2 separate regions of the Homo sapiens genome follow, and region 1 is linked to region 2. The links are contacts of gene promoters, found by promoter capture Hi-C in human tissues and cell types (Jung and others, 2019). All regions are on one chromosome and are shown on one strand. Each heading gives the region's core, a stretch centred on a gene start or on the middle of the fragment in contact. The rest is flanking DNA. Distances are from core to core; before and after follow the strand shown. Region 1 has its middle 9.0 kb from the start of OLIG3. Region 2 holds the start of IL22RA2 (interleukin 22 receptor subunit alpha 2).

What was found. Contacts are between HindIII fragments. The study calls those that stand out against the background at their distance.
Region 1: a contact is called between a fragment that was not itself captured here and the fragment with the promoter of IL22RA2 in region 2, in 2 of the 25 tissues and cell types used here (H1 embryonic stem cells and neural progenitor cells).

Annotation. Positions count from the first base shown.
Region 1 is chr6:137,483,370-137,487,391 of GRCh38, reverse strand. No RefSeq gene overlaps it. Among named protein-coding and RNA genes, the nearest start is that of OLIG3, 9.0 kb to the left of the region's middle. RefSeq lists an enhancer at 1-6. The HindIII fragment of the contact is 6,598 bases long and covers 1-4,022 here.
Region 2 is chr6:137,172,363-137,176,544 of GRCh38, reverse strand. It overlaps IL22RA2 (interleukin 22 receptor subunit alpha 2), which reads left to right and starts at 2,901. Exons shown (of 7, transcript NM_052962.3): 1 at 2,901-3,132. RefSeq lists enhancers at 3,927-4,146, 4,043-4,182. The HindIII fragment of the contact is 17,145 bases long and covers 1-4,182 here.

The sequences.
Region 1 (4,022 bases), core at 836-3,335, 310 kb before region 2:
CAACAGAGGGGAAAAAAAAAAGTAAAACAGTAAGAGAAATAAGGCATTCACATGCATAAGAAATAGCTCCTGTCCTCTGTGCCCTCAGAGCCTAGAGGGAAAACATCGGTTACCTAAGTCACCTAAGTCCTAGGGTAAAAATTCTACTGGCCGCACAAAACACAAGTGCTGTAAACACGTCCTTCCAGGCGCTTTTTCAGATGCTAGAAAACTCACTGCCCATTCCCTCTACTGGAAAGGACAGGAGCAGATGCTTTTGATTAATATGGAAATAAAAAGAAGCAATGGTGGCAGTACTTGGTTTCGTGGCAGTTGTTTAGAGATTTATTGACACAGAGATAAATTTCAGTCTGGGGCATCTCTGTATTTCATGTCCCTATTAGTTATTAGCAAATGAGCAAATCGTTTTTCTTTTAACTGTTTTTTTAAAGAAAAAAAATAAAAGAAGAGGAGTTGGGGGAGATATTTTTTTAATGGGATTACTGTCATTATCCTCCTTGTCTCTGTAGTTCCCCCAGCTACAGAAATTTGCCTCTGGACTCCAGAGTACACCAGGCTGTGGTTCTGAACATAAAACAATCCTGTAATTTCCTTCAAGAACAAAAGTTTTCAAAGAAATGACCTGCACAGTATCCCCTTCAATAAAGCAGAAGTGACTTAATGGTCTGTTAATTACTCCATCCCTGCAGGGGGAGGGAAGCTTCCGAATGGATCGCTACAAACCCTCTGTTGACTGAAGCTGTGGTCTGTCCCCAAATGTACAGCTGGGGCCGGGCCATTGAAAACCCAGACAAAACAAAATCCCTGATAAATAATCCCACCTAGAACACAAAGATTCAGCACTCAATTGTTGGATCTGCGCTGGATCCTCAGAGAAGACCGGAGGGAGCTCCTTTGGGGCTTCCGGTAATCTTTAAAGCTTGAGGCCAGGGGTTCTTGGACAAAAGTTAAAAAAAGAGCTTGTTTGACTTCTCTGTCCCCTTATCCTTCTGTGTTGAATTTCTTTCTCTTTAATTTGGGGCTTTGACTATATTTTATTTATCCAATCTTCTTTTGTATTAATTAGTTTGTTCCATCACGTAATAAATTTTTGGTTTGGTTATTTCTCCAGTTGTTTCTCTATTAATAATTTAAATCTAAGAAGACAGGATTTGAGTGTCATAAGAAAGACAAAGAAGAGAATAAAAATATAGGAGGCAGGTTTGGGTTGTTAGTCTCTGTGTCTTTTCACACCTGTAAGGTGAAAACTGCATGATGTAATTAAATATATTTCTAAAATAGAACAGTTAATCAGATATACTGGAGCCCAAGCAAACTAGCAGTCATTCAGTTAACTTTGCATCAGAGATGGTTAATTGGAAAAATTGAATTTTCAAAGCATCTCTTTAAGAAAAAAATATAAACATGTCCTACACTAATTAAAAAGATAATAGTTTCAATTTGGTATCAGTTTGGTCATTGTGGGTCCATTTAAATAAAACATTGCAGAAAGGTGAAATCTAGCATCTATAGAGATGAGTATTATGAAGGTGATCAAGATGTGGATATTAACTGTTTTAGAAATTAGTTGTTTGCTTGAACTAGGCAATGGCAGGAAGAGTCTATGGAGCCACACAGTTTGCCAAGTCCACTATTACTTCTTAAGGAAGTGATGCTGAAGGGTCAGGCACTGGTTAAAGCCATCCTTTGCCTTTCGTGCCACAGTTGACTGGACCAGATAGTGGTATACGAGCTAGTCAATATAAGGTAAACACATGAGGGAGGCCGGCTCATAGGCAATTGGCATTAAATGGTGCTTCATGTAGAACGGTGGCACTTTTCTCACTGGGAAAATATAAAAATCTAGTGAATCAAAAGGGACTCACCATTTAAACTAAGTTTGACCATAGTCAATGCTGGACTCTTGTTCTGGTTTTCTGTATAGCTAACTGTTCATTCCAGTCATGCGAAAAATGGGATCCAGACAGATGGACAGACATTGTGACCTGTGTAACGCAAAGAGTTGCCCCTTTTGATACTAAAGGCAAATCTATGCAATGATGTTCTCAAAATCTGACTTCCCTACAGTGCTGTAGAGACACAAACATGAAAAATTAGAAGCCATTCCCTCTTGCTAAATAGTCCATGGGGAAATAGAAGAAAGGGAAGCAATTTGTTTCCCATTTTTACTAAATTATATTATTAATAAGTCAGAGTGAATTAAGTACAGTTTTAGAAATTCTACTGTCTGACCAGGTAGAGGTGGGTTAGTTTCTTCCTCTCTCCTTTGCAGAGACTAATGTGCAACGTCTCTTCCCAAAGAGCATTTTGATATAGACATTTTTTTTTTTCATTTTTTACCCTTAGGTACTTGGTTCTCCAGCATTTTCTTCATCCTGTGGAGTGTTTGCCAGGCTCTTAATTGAAACATGTGATCTCTTCAGGGCCAGAGAGTATATTAACTTGACTAGTAACTTTTCTTTTTTTTTTTTTTTCAATTTTTATTTTAGTTTCGGGTGGTACGTGTGCACCTTTGTCGCATGGGTGAATTGCGTGTTGCTGAGGTTTGGTGTACGAATGATCTTGTCACCCAGGTAGCGAGCATAGTACTCAAAAGGTAGCTTTTCAGCCCTCGCCCCACTCCCACCCTCCCCTCACTGGTAGTCCCCAGTGTTTGATGTTCCCATCTTTATTTGACTAGTAACTTTTCATCATTATTGCTATCAGCAGGTTTTTAAGTAGAAAATACTAAGAAACATTTAGTGTATTTTTCACAGTAAATACTAGATCTCAACACAAGAAATTACATTAAAAATGGAGAGACCTAATATTTTTTAGAAATAATTTTATTTAAACCTCAGCCAGGTTTCATACTAATTTGGCCCTGAAGTGGCTGATGCTGACAGTGCTGGAATACCTGGAGGAAGGGGTAGAAGAGATCAGCAGGACAGTGCTAAATTTTCTAAATTTTGGTTCCTATGAACTCTCACTGCAGAGAACCTAGACTTCATCTGAGGGAACATTGAGAGGTGAGATGTTTTTCTTATAATTATTTACTTGACCATTATAGATTCTTTTCTTTTTCTAGAATTAACTTCCTTTGAAATTTTATATAAAGGTTGCTCATCTAAAATACATACCATTATGGTATGCAAGGATGTTCTACTTTGTTGACTCTAGAATATTCAATGAAACATTCCATGTTTCCCTATACTTTAGGCTTGAAAGAAAGAGGTCAGAAGTAAGCAATGGCAAGGCAGAATCTGCAGGGCAGGGATGAAAAGGATTAAGTGGGGCAGGTAAGGCAAGGAACGTGGTGGCCACTTTTTAAAAATGGAAAACATTTCTGGTGGTAACTTGGCATCAAGAATTACTCTTATTGGTTTATTCTTCACTTATATAGGCTTTAGGTCATTACAATAGTACTTAGAAAAAGGACCATGCCTACGTACTTCCAAGAGATAAAAGATTTATGGGAGATTCCCTTTTTCTCCTTGTTCTTCCTCCTCAGTTTTCCTTTCTTCCTCTATTCCTCTATCTTGCTTCTCAATTATCTAGTCATCTTTTTGCTATCTTCTCTACCTCTCTGCTTCCAGCCTTTATTTTCATTCCATGTGATCACGCCCCTCTATTTGCCCACTTCCACTGGCTACTTCATTGCTTTAGGGAAACATAGGGTTTACATTCTCCTGGCCTTCTTGCAAAGTCCTTGCACACACAATCTGCCTGCTCTTCCAACTAGTTTTGGTTTCTAGGAAGCCCCCAACCCTCTTTTCATATCTTCATTTCCAGCCTGTATTGTTACAAAAAAATGAGCTATGCAGAAGTGTGTTCCAGAACCAAAGCCATTCAGAGGTGCTTTAGCTTTCAAAAGCAGCATTGTCATAAGAGTGCTTTCCTAGGTGATAGGGGTATTATGGTAGAGGCTATTTATGCTTTACCAGCTTGTGTCGACTTAAGGAATGTATTTATATAGATAATCACAGCAAACACAAAGTGCTTAGTATGTGCCAGTCATGGTTTTAAACCCTTGACACATATTA
Region 2 (4,182 bases), core at 1,652-4,151:
AAAATTAAACAGCCCTTCCATTTGGAATTTTTGCTTTTCATTCTTTCCTTAAAAACCCTTGGGTGAGGAAAAGAAATCTAAATTGCAGAATTGCTAAAAAAAAAAAAAAAAAAAAGAAAAGAAAAAAGAAAAAAGAAAACATCACATTTTAGAGCCAATGAGGGAGCTTATACATTTCAGAGAAATTCCTAGTGTAAAAATTTGTATTGGTATAAAATAAAGAATAAAACAAACAGAACAAATATCTGACTCAGGAGTTTTTGTTTTTTGAAAAATCCAACAAATTAAATAAAACAAAAACAAAAGGAAGGAATTTTTAAAGGTAAAGGAGATAAAAATGAGACATGACTTTTTTTAAAGTAGAATACAAAACTACAAAATTTAGTTCCTTGAAAAGAAATTTGAAAATAAATATCCAGCCAATTTACTAAGAAAACAAGGGGAAAATCATTACTCAAAACAGAAAATTATAAAAGGGAAGTCACAGAAAAAGGAGAATTAAATAAATCATAAAGGAATAACTTGCACAACTCTGTACCAATAAATTTAAAGGCATGAATAAAAAGGATAGTCTTCTAAAGAAAATATACTTTGTAGCAACTGAATCTAGATGAGATAAAAAAAAAATCGAAACACACTAATTACCATAGAAGAATTAGAAAATTGTCAGATAATACTATCCTGTATTTTCTGCCCCCAAATTCCAAAAGCACCCAGATGATTTCTCAGGGAAATCTATGTATCCTTAAGAAGCAGATAATTCCTAGGTCACTCAGATTAATTTATCCAACTGACGAGCTGACTGCAACATTGCATGATTTTGCAAAGGTCATTGTTGCCCATGAGTGTCTGAGCTCGTGAGTATCTGACCATAGTAACCTCACAGTCCACAGAATCTCAGCCCCTTCCCCTCAGGACTCCTACTTCAGACCATAAAAAGCAGAAAAGCACCTTCCCGTTCCTTTAGCTTAATTCTTGTAAATTCATGGCAGTTGCTAAAATCACATTCCTTTTTTTTGATTCACTAGACATGTGATAAGGGCTTACTGTGTCCCCAGCCTTGTCCTAAGTGCTAGAGTTAAAGCAGTGAACAAAACACATAACATCCCTGACCTCGTGGAGCTTATATCCTAGTTGGGGAGATAGACAACAAGAATAAAATGAAACATAGCCTGCCAAATGATGATAAATGTTTTGGAAAACAAACAGATAAAGGTGCCAGGGACAGCTGTTGGGGACTGCTATTTTGGGTGTCATAGAATTCACTGATAAGATAATATTTGAGCAGAGACATGAAGGAGGTGAGGGAGTGAGCCTGGACATCTCAGGAAGAGCATTGGAGCAGAGGGAACCTTGCTAATGTAGGGATGTGCCTGATATGTTTGAGAAACAGCAAAAAGACCACCCAGGAGGGAGCACCATGGGTTGGGAGGAGAGCAGTAGGAAATAAATTTAGAGGTAACAGGACCTGGTTATATAGGGCTTAGTAAGGGACTGGAAAAATGTTGACTTTCAATCTGAGTGAGATGGGAAGGCATCACAGGGTTCTGAATAAAATGTTCTATTCTGACATTTAATAGGAACACTCCACCTGATGCAGAGAACAGTGACAGAGGCAGGCAGACCAGTAAGGAGGCTGTGGCCACAGTCCACACAAGAGATGATGATAGCAGGTTACCAAATGGGTACAGTGGAGGAGGTGAAAACCAGTTGGATTCTGGTTATGCCATGAAGATATTTTCAGGATCAAACAATACATACAAACATACTGGTGCATGGGCATAATGATTGATGATATCTGGTAGGGGTTTCAAGGTGACCTTGGGTGAAGAATAATCAAAGCTACATATTGGGTACAATGTACATTACTCGGGTAAGAGATGCAATAATATCTCAGACTTCACCACTGTGCAATCCATCCAGGTAACCAAAAACCACTTGCACTATTGCACAGCTACTGAAATAAAAAAAATACATATTTTTTAAATGTTACCACTCCTTTATGTTTTGGTTTTCAGAAATAAATTTTAAAAAATTTTTTAAAGAATAATCAAAGCAAAATCAATAGCATCTTTTATCCAGAAAAATAAGAGTGAAGAGCAGGAAAGGTTAACCTCATTAAGCCCTATGTCCTATGAGTGGAGATTTTAAATAATATATTAGTGATCACAGTCCAAAAACTCAGATTAGTCATTGTGCTTATCACCTGTGTTTGAATAACAATGTTTCTTTTTCTTTTCTGAATTCAAGTTCACAAACCATTTTGAATTTTTGCATGCCAATTATTTCCAGAATGCCGAACTGCTTAAAGGACATGAATATTACTCGGTGGAGCTATTAATGTCCCAGCAAATAAGAAAGAACAAGTTGTTTCCCTGTTGTTGGCTCTACAGCTCTATAGTTTTCCAGAGAGGGAGAAGGGTGGTGTTCAGATTATCATTCATGATGAAACTTTTAAAAGATGCTCAGCTGCCCACCAAATCATAGGATGAAGGAAAGGGCCTAGCAGAAACACAGTTGCTCTGACTTCCCTTCAATGGACAGCACCAAAGTCATACTGAACACCAGTTTTTAAACACTTCTCTGAAAAACAATAAGAAACACTTAGCCCTTTGCTACCAAGACCTGGTTGAAGAAAATGCTGTTGGTTCCCTGAGGGCTGGCTCTGTAGTCTTGTTCATTTCTGCATCCCCGATGTCTAACACAGTGCCTGGCATATAACAGTTGCTCAATAAACATTTGTTTGACTGAATAAACGATTCGAGAAGCCAATGGACAAATGTTCTTTGACATCATTCTATCCCTTTATGGAATGTCTATTACAAGCAAAGAATAACACAAGAGGAGTTTCATAATACTCCTCAGGCCCTGAGGCTAACCAGATCTGATTTCAGCCCTCACTTTACCACTACTCGCTATAGAGCCCTGGTCAAGTTCTCTCCACCTCTCTATCTATGTCTCAGTTTCTTCATCTGTAACATCAAATGAATAATAATACCAATCTCCTAGACTTCATAAGAGGATTAACAAAGACAAAATATGGGAAAAACATAACATGGCGTCCCATAATTATTAGATCTTATTATTGACACTAAAATGGCATTAAAATTACCAAAAGGAAGACAGCATCTGGTAAGTAAACTTTATTTATTTATTTATTTATTTTTTTGAGATGGACTCTCGCTTTATCGCTGCCCAGACTGGAGCGCAGTGGCGCGATCTCGGCTCACTGCAAACCTCACCTCCTTGACTCAAGCAATTCTCCTGCCTCAGCCCCACTGAGTAGCTGGGATTACAGGCACACACCGTCACGCCTGGCTAATTTTTGTATTTTTAGTACAGACGGGGTTGCACCATGTTGGCCAGGCTGGTCTGGAACTCCACACCTCAAATGATCCACCCACCTCCGCCTTCCAAAGTGCTGAGATTACAGGTGTGAGCCACCGTGTCTGGCCACATCTTGTAGATAAACTTTAAAAATCTTTTTTCTTTGTTATGAACAATTTTAAGTACATACAAAAGTAGAGTATAATAAACCTGACACCCAATTTCAACAGTTATCAGCTCATGGATGGTAACCCCCTTTCCCAGGCCTTTGTATTATTTTGAAGCAAATCCCAGACATGACACCATTTCATCTGTAGTACTATAATAGGTAGCTCTAAAAAAAAATAAAAATAATAACCAAAATTCCACATCACACCTAAAAACAATGAAAAATGATTCCTTAATTAGATAAATGGTTGGTCTGCTGGAAGCCACAAGAAGAAAGGAAGAAGAGAATCAAATCTGTTCAAGACAGGGGCTTAAGCAAGTTCTCTCCAGAGTCAACACGATGATGGAAATACCCGTTGTCACCGTCAAGGTGGACTCTCCCTGCTGCGGAGTGGGGCCGAGGTCGGGGGAGGGCAGGGAATGAAGCCAGCATTTCATGCCTGAAAGGAGGCAGAGCGGAGATCCCCTAGTGACTAAAACTTTCTTACTTCCCAAACAAAACAGCATTTCATTTGAAACAATTCTGTACAAATTCTTCTGCTTCCAGATTGATGGGAAATTAGAATTTAATTTTATCTTTTCATCTACCTTGAGGCCTTGTTGACAGTGTTGGCTTTTATGCAGGTTCTATTACACAACTAGAGCTAATTGAACAGTGACAGAACTGGTCTGGTTTGTGAAATTTAA